Regions from separate parts of the Homo sapiens genome. Here regions 1 and 3 are each linked to region 2. Evidence: promoter capture Hi-C in 16 types of primary human blood cells and fetal thymus (Javierre and others, 2016). All regions are on one chromosome and are shown on one strand. The core of a region is centred on a gene start or on the middle of the fragment in contact, and the rest is flanking DNA. Distances in the headings are between cores, read along the strand shown. Region 1 holds the start of PCDHGA1 (protocadherin gamma subfamily A, 1). Region 2 holds the start of YIPF5 (Yip1 domain family member 5). Region 3 overlaps LARS1 (leucyl-tRNA synthetase 1).

Region 1 (3,978 bases), core at 1,235-3,734, 2.8 Mb before region 2:
TGCCACTGTGGGCACTGTCATTCTACATGTCAGTGAGTGCAGAGTGCTATGGTTACCATGCAGACTATCTTTGAGCTGACTCTGCAGGCCAGTGACCAGGGTTCAACTTGCTCAGTGTCATCCTGAACCTGCATGTGATGGTGGATGACCATTGCAAAAATGCAAGGACACTATGCCAGGAGTTGCAGCCAAGTGGGGCCCTCTTTGATGCTGCACCACTCACAATGCAACCCAGCTATCCCATCACCAAAGTGGACACCAGCTGGGGCATAAAGGCTGACTGTCCTATCATGTGCTTCAGGCCAGCTAATGTGGCTCTTCAAACTAGGGATGTGCACGAGCTAGATGCGTGCCGTGTCACTGTGGGTAACAGAGATGCAACCTGCCAAGGTTTGTTGGTCACCGTGGTCAATGGTGAATCATCACGCTGAAACATCACCTGGTTGCTGCTCATAGTTTGCAGGAGTTGCTACCAGACCTCAGCAATCGCCCAGCACCCAACAGCAGGCAGCAGACAGCACCCAACAGCTGGCGATGGCCGTTGCCTTGATCTCCATGCTGTTTCTCCTCAGTGTGACTCTGGCCATCTCTCTGAACCTGCAATGCCCCCTATAGCTCCATTGCCTGGGGCTGTTTTCAGCTGGATCTCTGGTCCAAGCCCGGATATGGAGTTGTCTCCAACTTAAAGAAAGGAAATTTGCCCTGTTCCTACAACGTATGTGTGGTTTTAGATATTTTTAAAATCTTAATTTCTTTAACTCAAGAAACAGCTTTGAACCAGGTATTCTCTGCAGTGCCAGCAATGAAGCTTTGTTTTATTTTTGTTTTTGTAGAAACGGGGTTCACTATATTGACCAAGCTGGTCTCAAACTCCTGGCCTCAAGTAATCTGCCCACCTTGGCCTCCCAAAGTGCTGGGATTGCAGGCGTGAGCCACTGTGTGTGGGCAGCAATGAAGCTTTAAATGTTGCATTTGATTCAAATGTATTTGTGTGATATTTTAACATTTTTATTTTATACTTACCATCCTTTTATAAATCACTCCTGCGTGTTTTTGGTTGCTGAAAGTAGGGAGCTCTACAGGTTTACTTACTAGTTCTTATGTATATTTTAATTTACCTCATTAGCTCACAATTTCTTTGGGGAAAAGTTTATGCCTATTAATGTGTATTCTGAAAAGTTACATTCTCTGTTAAAGAGTTACTTCCTTGCAATATTGAAGATGATTTATTGCACCTTTAAATTTCTACTCTTTGGCTCCATGTACTTGTCTTTGAGAAGCTGAGAAACTGTAGATTTGGTTAAGAACTAAAGTTCTCTTTCCAAAAACTATTATTGAGACCTTTCATTGTTTTCTTTCTTTCCTCATTTTTAACTTTTCTCAGTCATGGTGTCCATGGGTTGGCTGGCCGAATTTGTTCCTGAAATTATCAGACTCTGGAGTACAGATAGCATGCTTCTCTAACTTTGGGGTAAAGATAAGTAAGTCACTCTAAGCCTGAGACATTTTAATTAGTAACCCTTTGCTAATAGTGCAGTGATTAAAAAAAAAAGAAGGCCACATCCTCAACTGGTTAAAAAATACTGTTAAGAGAAAACCAACTTCTCTTGGAGAAAATATTAAGTGCGATTATAGAGGAATACATATTATAAGAGCCTATCTAAAAATAAAGATGAGACCATTTTTCTTTTCAGCTGTGAAGAATAATATCATAGACTTTGTCTCTGAAATTTGAAATCTAAATTATATATTCATGTGACTTTTCAATGAAATTCCAAGAGCCCAGTTTTATTTTTTTCAAAATATATTGCCTTTGGTGAATCTTAAGAATTTTTTAAAAACCCACATAATGCAAAGACACTTCAAAAAAAAAAAAGAGGAAAAATAAGGATAGGGTTAAACCATGCTCTTCAAAATCCCAAGGTTTCTGATAAATATTCAAATCATAATGGGAAGGAAATGGGATGGTATGATTTTTTTAAAGTCTAGCTTATATTCTAAAAGATTATTTTTCCCTCTAATACTTTTCACCCTCCAGTCAAAGGGGAGCTGCTCTATGTGGCCTGGGAAATTACCAAGTGGTCAAACTTTACTACAGAAAAAGTGGAGAGATGATTTTGTCCTCATTGTAATGTTAGGTTTTTACTATAATTCCCTGAATAGCAAACTTGGAAAGCAGATAACATGGGAATACTTGGATTCTCCTGTATATTTCAATTTGGTGACATTTAGGCACATTTAAAGAAGTGAACATATAGTTTCTCTTTTTCATACATATATTGTAGAATTATTTCCTTGACAATAGACTAAAACTTAAGAAAATAACAAGTTAATGAGAAGGTTTTCAGTATTTGCTAGGAATGCAGTAACTGGTTAGGACTGTGGGCGCCGCTGTTCACTAATCTGGTAGATACAGGCAGTACACACAGGTCAGGAGGAGGAAAAAAAAAAAAAAGAAAAAGAAAAAAGCTCTCGTGCCTCTTAGAACCTCCATAACCGCCAGATTGAAAACTGACTGTCCAAGACTGCCTAAATCCTACTTCTGGATGACTCTCCAGTCAGAATTCTCCTGAAAATTGGGTTAATTTCAGCTCAGAAAAGCAGAAACGATACCCTTGGTACTGGACTGGAAGAAAACTACGAAGTGAGAGAGCCATGAAGATTCAGAAAAAGCTGACTGGCTGCAGCAGGCTGATGCTTCTGTGTCTTTCTCTGGAGCTGCTGTTGGAAGCTGGGGCTGGGAATATTCACTACTCAGTGCCGGAAGAGACAGACAAAGGTTCCTTCGTAGGCAACATCGCCAAGGACCTAGGGCTGCAACCCCAGGAGCTGGCAGATGGCGGAGTCCGCATCGTCTCCAGAGGTAGGATGCCGCTTTTCGCTCTGAATCCTAGAAGTGGCAGCTTGATCACCGCGCGCAGGATAGACCGGGAGGAGCTCTGCGCTCAGAGCATGCCGTGTCTCGTGAGTTTTAATATCCTTGTTGAGGATAAAATGAAGCTTTTTCCTGTTGAAGTAGAAATAATTGATATTAATGACAACACTCCCCAATTCCAGTTAGAGGAACTGGAGTTTAAAATGAATGAAATAACGACTCCAGGTACCAGAGTCTCATTGCCTTTTGGGCAAGACCTTGATGTGGGTATGAACTCACTCCAGAGCTACCAACTCAGCTCTAACCCTCATTTCTCCCTGGATGTGCAACAGGGAGCCGATGGGCCTCAACATCCAGAGATGGTGCTGCAGAGTCCCTTAGACAGAGAAGAAGAAGCTGTCCACCACCTCATCCTCACAGCTTCTGATGGGGGTGAACCAGTCCGTTCAGGGACCCTCAGAATTTACATTCAGGTGGTGGATGCAAATGACAATCCTCCAGCATTTACTCAGGCACAATACCATATAAATGTCCCCGAAAACGTGCCGCTGGGTACTCAGCTGCTCATGGTAAATGCCACTGACCCTGATGAGGGAGCCAATGGGGAAGTAACGTACTCCTTTCACAATGTAGACCACAGAGTGGCCCAAATATTTCGTTTAGATTCTTACACAGGAGAAATATCAAATAAAGAACCACTAGATTTCGAAGAATACAAAATGTATTCAATGGAAGTTCAAGCCCAGGATGGTGCGGGGCTCATGGCTAAAGTTAAGGTACTGATCAAAGTTTTGGATGTAAATGATAATGCCCCAGAAGTGACCATCACCTCTGTCACCACTGCAGTTCCAGAAAACTTTCCTCCTGGGACCATAATTGCTCTTATCAGTGTGCATGACCAGGACTCAGGAGACAATGGCTACACCACATGTTTCATTCCTGGAAATTTACCCTTTAAATTGGAAAAGTTAGTTGATAATTATTACCGTTTAGTGACTGAAAGAACACTGGACAGAGAACTTATCTCTGGGTACAACATCACAATAACAGCAATAGACCAAGGAACTCCAGCTCTATCTACTGAAACTCACATTTCACTACTA
Region 2 (4,040 bases), core at 1,356-3,855:
ACCCAAGTTTATAGCAATAATGGTTATATAATCACCCAGAATAAAACTTCATCACTAGTACTGAAGCAATGCTTACTGGTACATGATTTGGTTGGAATGAAACTGTGAGAACAGTTGGCAACAGGTGCTAACCAGCAACAAGTTGTTTAGAATATCTAAATTGCTGTGTGGAGAACTGAAATGACTGTTAAAGGGAATGAGACTGTAAGTCACACCTTTTAAGTGATGCAAACGTGGACAGGACAGAAAAGAAAAGAAAAGCAGAGGCAGATAAATCTCGTAGGCTGCAATCTAAATGGAATAGCTCTGTTGAGTTCTAATCATAAAAACCATTCGGATAAAAACAGGCCTGCATAGAGAGACAGGTTCTCCGAAGCTGTGTTGCTGCTTTAGGCAAGGATTTATTAGATGGACTCTGGCTCTCCTATACACAGAGCAATCACCAAAAATACATATTTAGGTAAATAAATGAATGGAAATACCTCAATACAAATTTTCCAACTCTGCCCATTAATTTATCAAAAGAGATAAATCCTCATTGGTATGTAATTAAGTAACAGAAAAGAGAAATGAATCACGGGGTATTTTGACATGCTCACTCCCATTGTTCAAATGTGTTAAGTTTTAGAGGGGAAAACAAAGCCTTAAAATATACCAAATTAAGCAGACTCAAAGAGACTATATGTTTTAGAAAGGATAGCCTAACCAAGACAGACACTATTACAGAGCCACAGTGAATTTGAATTTTGTTTTGTTTTTTAAATTCTTGGGCACTCTAATCCAAACACATTCCTGTATTGCATGTTTCTCACAAACTGACAGATACATAACCTTCCCCTGCCCTCATCGTGGAACAGTCTTTATGAGGTTTCAAATTCGGGATCCATGATGAACATCATTTAACACATGAATTGTCTGAAGTTATATATGCACATTTATTTGGGTGTTTGAGTGAATGCATGTATTTATGGGAAAGAGGCCCAGTTGTAATAGGATTCTCAAAGAGATCCAGAACCATCTAAAAAAGTTTAAGCAATCCTAGTATAGGAAGCTCCTTTATTTGACAGGAAGCTGATAAGATTATCTCTAGGGTCCTAAGAAACTAAGGAGATGATGTTTTAGGTGAGATTGCTAGAAAGCCTTCAGTTCATGTATTTTTGTCACAAACACCAGGTACTATAAAAAGATCATTTAAAAAAAAATGTTCAGAGGCTAACGGCTTTGAGTCAACCTCCTCAGTATGCAACTTATAACACGTGTGGCACTGACCATAAGGGTTTGAGAAGGAGGAGTAATAAAAATGATTATCAACTGCTGTATGAAAATCGCCTGATGATTCGTAATAAGGAGCTTACATCATTAAATAATGTCACTAAGCACTTTCAATTAGCACTGATAAAAGTCTCAGAGTTGGACTGATTTAACTACTAACAAAATACTTTAATTTTTCACTGGTCCTATGAACTAACAGCCTATCTCCTAGGTACCTGAAGCTCCCATCATCTTCTAAATACAGAAATACTGTTACTAGAAAACAGTTCTTCAAACAAGCTACTTTTCCATTCATGGTACACCTGAAGAGTTTGCAGAAGACACTCAACTCTTAAATAGAACAATACCTTCGAAGCCAAGCCAGTGTCACATATCTCTCTAGAGGAAGAAGATTATGCATGAAAGATCATACTCCTGATAAAGGACATGTTCACATATTGTTTTAGGCAGAACCAAATATTCTAAATATGTGTTTTCACTGCAATGTAGACTAAATTAATTGCCAAAGATGAAAAGTTACTTGCTATAGGGTCCTCCACTTCCTCCATAATCATAGGACTGCTGTGACTGATCATCGATGCTGTAACTTGTCTGGTAGAAATCCGTGTTTAAGTTTTCAAAGCCTGACATTGCAAATAATCTGTAATAAAAGAGAAATGGCAAATATTCCTTATGCCCAAGGTTCTACTGAATTCGTTCCTGGCAGTCTGCTTAAGCAAATAGAAACACAACAAATATTTTTTCAGTAATTCGGAGAGGGGATGGGGGCGGAAAGTACGCAGCATTTGAACGACGGTAGCGGAGAGAGAGTAAGAAAATGTATATTCTTTTAAGTTGCGGCCCAGTAAGACAACTCCACCTTAAAGAGCTGATATGCCTTCCATTAGGGGCGAGGTCGTGGGAGTTGTGGTTCCATAAGCGGTCTAAAATATCAATAACAACAAAGATGATTTTTCACCTTAGGACTGGGCTTTACAGCTGACAAGGCGACTGCTTCCTTGCAAAATAAGGCCTGCGGCCTGCCAGGAAAAAGTGCAGAATCTGGAAGGTCGCGCCTGAGGTGCAGGGGACCGCGTCAGGGCAAGGGCTTGAATGAGAGCGAGGGTCTGAGCGAAAGGACCAGGGCGCGGCGCCGAAAGACGGCAACAAGCCCATTTGCACGGGTGTGGAGAGAAGCTGAACACTGTGCCACGGGCCTGGGTCACTCACCAAACTCTGAGGCTGCGCTGGCGGCAAAGGCAGTAGCTTCACTAATCCCAAACAACCCCCAAACTCTGTTTCAGACCCTGAACCAGCCCCGTTGCTACGTGTCACAGGGCCAAAGAACGGCTTCCGGGGCACGCCCGCTCGCGCAGGCGTGTTAGCAGGTTGGGCACCGGTGGGCGGGAGGAGGAGACACGAGTATGGAGCTTGCGCAGTATCTACCCAACCTGCGGCTGGCCCGTGCCAAAGAGGAAAGTGCTTCCGGCAGCCTGGTTAGGGGTGGAACCAGGAAAGCGCAGGCGTAGCAATTGCTGCTTACTCGTAGGTAGGAGGAGGAGTTTCTCAGACCTAGGTGATGGAGGAAGACTGGGAGGCGCTAAAATGAGACAGACGGAGTCCCCTCTCCTGTCCACAAACTACAATGCCTACAATGCCTCGGTGTCAGCATTTACTGTGATTCAAGCACTGTGCTAAAGTGTTTGTATGTATTATTTAATCTTTACAACCTAATGAGATGGTTACCCTATTTCCCTTTTGTAAGTGAAGCTATTAAGTATTCATTCATTCTGTGCTAGCTGCTGGGGATACTGTGGTAAATATAAGCTAGGTGACATCTACCCACCTGGAGTTGGTGGTGGAGAGGGGTAATCGAACACATACAAATGCATGTGAAATTGCTACTAATATTCTTTAGTGTTCCATAATTCTTTGAAAGAGTAACATTCATCTGGGAAGAAGAGTCTGTAAAGCCACTATAAGAGGGTTATCAAAGGGTGAGTGGGAGTTAGAGAAGACCAGAAAAGAGAAGAAAGGGCAACGGGAAAGGAGGATAAGGGAAAATAGCCTGAATATTTTAGGCAAAGAGAACAATGTGTGCAAGATCTGGGAAGCATGGTCTGAGGAAAGATGAAAATCGAGCTCTGAACTTCAGCATTATTAACATTTTGAGTCAGGATGTTTCTTTATTGGGGGCTGCCCTGTGCATGATGCTTAGCAGTAGCATCCCTAATCTCTAGCCATTAGATGCCAGTACTCCCCCCAACCAACCACCACCACCATCACCACCAAGTTGTGACAGCTAAAAATCTCTCCAGACATTGCCAAATCCAAATGTCCTTGGGGGCGGTGGGGGCAACATTAGCTGAATTTGTCAACCACTCTTCTAAGTGGAACCTGAGTGACTGGAACAGCAAGTGAGGGGAGCCACATAGGAGTTGAGGCTGGAATAACAGGAAGGGGCCAGGAAATATCCTGTGGGATTTGTGTGTTGGTTCTAAAAGAAGTGAAGATTGTGAACTGATGAGTGATGTTTAAATTGTTTTCTTTTGAAAATGATTGCTTTGGCTCCTGTGTTAAATCACTTTCCCAAGATGGTGGAATCCCGAATATTGTGACTCGAAATAAGATGCTATTAACTAATGAGCAGAACTTTCTTCAGGGTTTATAGCAATAAAATTTATCATGAGCCACTGCATTATATTCTGGGATCAAAATCCTGAGGCCCTCACAAAAGAAGCCAGACCATTGTTGGGGACTAGTTTCCAAAGGAACAATAAAATTTCACT
Region 3 (3,956 bases), core at 354-2,853, 2.0 Mb after region 2:
CGGAGCTTGCAGTGAGCCGAGATTGCGCCACTGCACTCCAGCCTGGGTGACAGAGCAAGACTCCGTCTCAAAAAAAAAAAACAAAAACAAAAAAAATTAAAAGGTAAAATGAGGCCAGGAGTGATGGCTCATGTCTTATAATCTTAAGAGCTTTGAGAGGCCAAGGCAGAAGGATCACTTGAAGCCAGGAGTTTGAGACCAGCCTGGGCAACATAGCAAGACCCTGTCTCTAAGAAAAAACAAATTAGCCAGGCATGGTGGCGCATGCCTGTAGTCCCAGCTACTCAGAAGGCCGAGGAAGAAGGATTGCTTGAGCTCGGGAGTTTGAAGTTACAGTGAGCTATGACTGTGCCACTGCACTCCAGCTTGAATGACACAGCAAGACTTTGTCTAAAAAAAGAAAGAAAGAAAAAGGCTAGGCACGGTGGCTTATGCCTGTAATCCCGGCACTTTGGGAGGCTGAGGTGGGCGGATCACGAGGTCAGGAAATCGAGACCATCCTGGCCAACATGGTAAAACCCCGTCTCTACTAAAAATACAAAAATTAGCTGGGCGTGGTGGCACATGCCTGTAATCCCAGCTACTAAGGAGGCTGAGGCAGGAGAATCGCTTTAACCAGGGAGTTGGGGGTTGCAGTGAGCCGAGATGGCGCCACTGCACTCCAGCCTGATGACAGAGCAAGACTGTCTCAAAAAAAAAAAAAAAAAAAGAAAGAAAGAAAAAGAAGATTAAATGAGAGTATACATGTAAAAAAATTTGCTAGCACATTTGCTAGCACACAGTAAGTGTTCAATGTTAACTTACTATTATTGTTGTTACTATAACCGTATTTCTTCAATCTGAAAAAGCACATTTTCTTACATCTCAACATATATGAATCTGGGATATATCTTATAATTGATGCATACATTTATTAAGGCAATGTTTGGGGGAGTTATTTTGTTTTTGTTTTTCCCAAATATCATGTCATGATCTACGTTTGTCTTTAAATCAGTATTATTTTAGTATCAAGGCAATGCAGTATTTATGAAATAATATCTTCAACATTTATACTTCTATAAGCATTAGGTTTACTTGTAAAGAAAAAACATAAAAATTTACATTTTCTGTCTTTGGAGATAATAATCGTCTATGAGTCTAATAGAATAATTTCGTTTTATCAGTCAGCAAAGAAAAAAATCTCAAAACATCCTTCTTTGTCTAAATATTTAAAATACTGTAGTCTTTAAAACAAAACAAAACAAACTTTATTTAGAAAAAAAAATCTTTACAAACCCCATAAGAAAAAAGATCCTAATTCATATGCAGAAAGTGAAAGTCACCTCCTTCACCCTGTTTCAGGCATTATAAATACAATCTACCTTATGGGTTCCACCAAGCTGTTTCTGTACTATAAAGCCAACGGTTTTAGAAATACAATGCACAGGGCCGGGCGTGGTGGCTCACGCCTGTAATCCCAGGACTTTGGGAGGCCGAGGCGGGTGGATCACGAGGTCAGAAGATCGAGACCACCCTGGCTAACACAGTGAAACATCATCTCTACTAAAAATACAAAAAATTAGCTGGGCATGGTGGTGGGTGCCTGTAGTCCCAGCTGCTCGGGAGGCTGAGGCAGGAGAATGGCATGAACCTGGGAGGCGGAGCTTGCAGTGAGCCGAGATTGCGCCACTGCACTCCAGCCTGGGCGACAGAGCAAGACTCCGTCTCAAAAAAAAAAAAAAAAAAATATATATATATATATATATATATAGAAATACAATGTGCAGAACTTCACAAACTATTACTCACCTGGTCTGTTTCTCTAAATTAGATGCATTGACCTCAAACACTCTCTCAGTATCCCATTTCTGTTGGATTTCTTTCTCAATCTTCTTCAAAAAGTCCACTTTGGCTGTTCCTTTTCTTTCCTATTGGACACAAAGAGAATAATCCACTCTGTATTTCAGCACGCTTGCTTTAAAAAAGAATTGGGTTCACAGAACTGAGCTGCTCACTGATAAAGACTGATTTTTCCATGGTTATCTTGAAATTTAAATGAACATTAAAAATTAGGGTTATCAGCCAGGCGCGGTGGCTCATGCGTGTAATCCCAGCACTTTGGGAGGCCGAGGCGGGTGGATTGCTTGAGGTCAGGAGTTCGAGATCAGCCTGGCCAACAGGGCGAAACCCATCTCTACTAAAATACAAAAATTAGCTGGGCGTGGTGGCGGGTACCTGTAATCTCAGCAACTCAGGAGGCTGAGGCAGGAGAATCGCTTGAACCAGGGAGGCGGAGGCTGCAGTGAGCCGAGATCATGCCATTGCACTCCAGCTTGGGTGACACAGCAAGACTCCGCCAGAAAAAAAAAATTAGGATTATCATGACCTGTGTACCTCAAACCTCAAAGAAATGGTTGAACAATTACTGAAATATGTAAAAGGCTTTGATATGCTTTTTTAAAATTATATACTACAATGTAACACTGTCATCAAATGTTTCTATTTAATTAAAATACATGAATATCAAAGATACTGATAGAGAACTTCTCTCCAAAATTGTTAAAGAACTGTTCATATGAAATTTAAATAAAACAGGCTGGACACGGTGGCTCACGCCTGTAATCCCAGCACTTTGGGAGGCCGAGGTGAGAGGATCACCTGAGGTCAGGAGTTAGAGACAAGCCTGGCCAACGTGGTGAAACCCCATCTCTACTAAAAATACAAAAATTAGCTAGGCAAGGTGGCACGCATCTGTAATCCCAGCTACTTGGGAGGCTGAGGCAGGAGAATCGCTTGAACCTGGGAGGTGGAAGTTGCAGTGAGCCAAGATTGCACCATTGCACTCCAGCCTGGGCAACAAGAGCGAAACTCCATCCCCCACCAAAAAAAAAAAAATACCTGGACTCTTTTCAAGTTTCCATAAAACAGTGATTGTATAAGGTATTTTCTTTTCTAAGAAATAATAAGCCTGCACAACTGTTCATCCCTTTCCATTCCTGCTACTAACCACCTTCATTTAGACTATCAACGCCACTGCCCCCTCTCACTTCAAAACCTCTTCTTAATAAGTAACTTGGCTGGATGTAGTGCCTCATGTCTACAATCCCAACACTTTGGGAGGCTGAGGAGGGAGGATTATTTGAGGCCAGGAGTTTGAGACCAGCCTAGGCAACATAGAAAGACCTCCTCTTTAAAAGAAAAACAATTTTTTTGGCCAGGTTTGGTGGCTCATGCCTGTAATCCCAGCACTTTGAGAGGCCGAGGCAGGTGGATCACCTGAGGCTACGAGTTCAAGACCAGCCTGGCCAATATGGCGAAACCCCATTTCTACTAAAAATACAAAAATTAGCCGGATGCGTTGGCATGCGCCTATAATCTCAGCTACTCGGGAGGCAAAGACAGGAGAATTACCTGAACCCAAGAGGCGGTGGTTGCAGTGAGCCAAGATGGAGCCACTGCACTCCAGCCTAGGCAACACAGCAAGACCAATCTCAGCTCACTGAAACCTCCATCTCTGGGGTTCAAGCAATTCTCCTGCCTCAGCCTCCCGAGCAGCTGGGATTACAGGTGCGTGCCACCATACCTGGCTAATTTTTGTATTTTTAGTAGAGACGAGGTTTCACCATGTTGGCCAGGCTGGCCTCAAACTCCTGACCTCAGGTGGTCCACCCGTCTCAGCCTCCCAAAGTGCTGTGATTACAGGCATGAGCCACCCAGCCCGGTCTGTAAAATATAATTTCTAATATTTTTACAGAGGAAAGGACCCACCCACAAAGGCAAAAGTATGTAGGGCCTCATGAAGCCTAGTCATATCTCCTACCCTACGGTCATGGGTAATATGAAATTTCACTGTATTTATGTGTGTGTGTCTGTGTGAGAGAGAGAGGGTCTCCCTCTGCCACCCAGGCTGGAGCATAATGGTGCAAGCACCAGCTCACCGCAGCCTTGACCTACTGGGCTCAATCAATCTTCCCATC

What was found. Contacts are between HindIII fragments. The CHiCAGO score rates a contact against its expected background, and 5 or more counts as called.
Region 1: a contact is called between the fragment with the promoter of PCDHGA1 here and the fragment with the promoter of YIPF5 in region 2, in 1 of 17 cell types (total CD8 T cells). The highest score is 5.7, in total CD8 T cells.
Region 3: a fragment that was not itself captured here is called in contact with the fragment with the promoter of YIPF5 in region 2 in 1 of 17 cell types (neutrophils); the score reaches 12.2 in neutrophils.

Annotation. Positions count from the first base shown.
Region 1 is chr5:141,328,030-141,332,007 of GRCh38, forward strand. PCDHGA1 (protocadherin gamma subfamily A, 1) reads left to right here and starts at 2,485. Exons shown (of 4, transcript NM_018912.3): 1 at 2,485-3,978. The coding sequence starts at 2,656. It also overlaps PCDHG@. The HindIII fragment of the contact is 2,043 bases long and covers 956-2,998 here.
Region 2 is chr5:144,168,054-144,172,093 of GRCh38, forward strand. YIPF5 (Yip1 domain family member 5) reads right to left here and starts at 2,606. Exons shown (of 6, transcript NM_030799.9): 1 at 2,482-2,606; 2 at 1,793-1,912. The coding sequence starts at 1,902. KCTD16 (potassium channel tetramerization domain containing 16) reads left to right here and starts at 2,820. Exons shown (of 4, transcript NM_020768.4): 1 at 2,820-2,956. RefSeq lists an enhancer at 2,468-2,747. The HindIII fragment of the contact is 8,610 bases long and covers 1-4,040 here.
Region 3 is chr5:146,175,759-146,179,714 of GRCh38, forward strand. It overlaps LARS1 (leucyl-tRNA synthetase 1), which reads right to left. Exons shown (of 32, transcript NM_020117.11): 2 at 1,789-1,907. Among named protein-coding and RNA genes, the nearest start is that of LARS1, 4.9 kb to the right of the region's middle. RefSeq lists an enhancer at 1-48 and silencers at 754-954, 1,774-1,974. The HindIII fragment of the contact is 6,562 bases long and covers 1-3,956 here.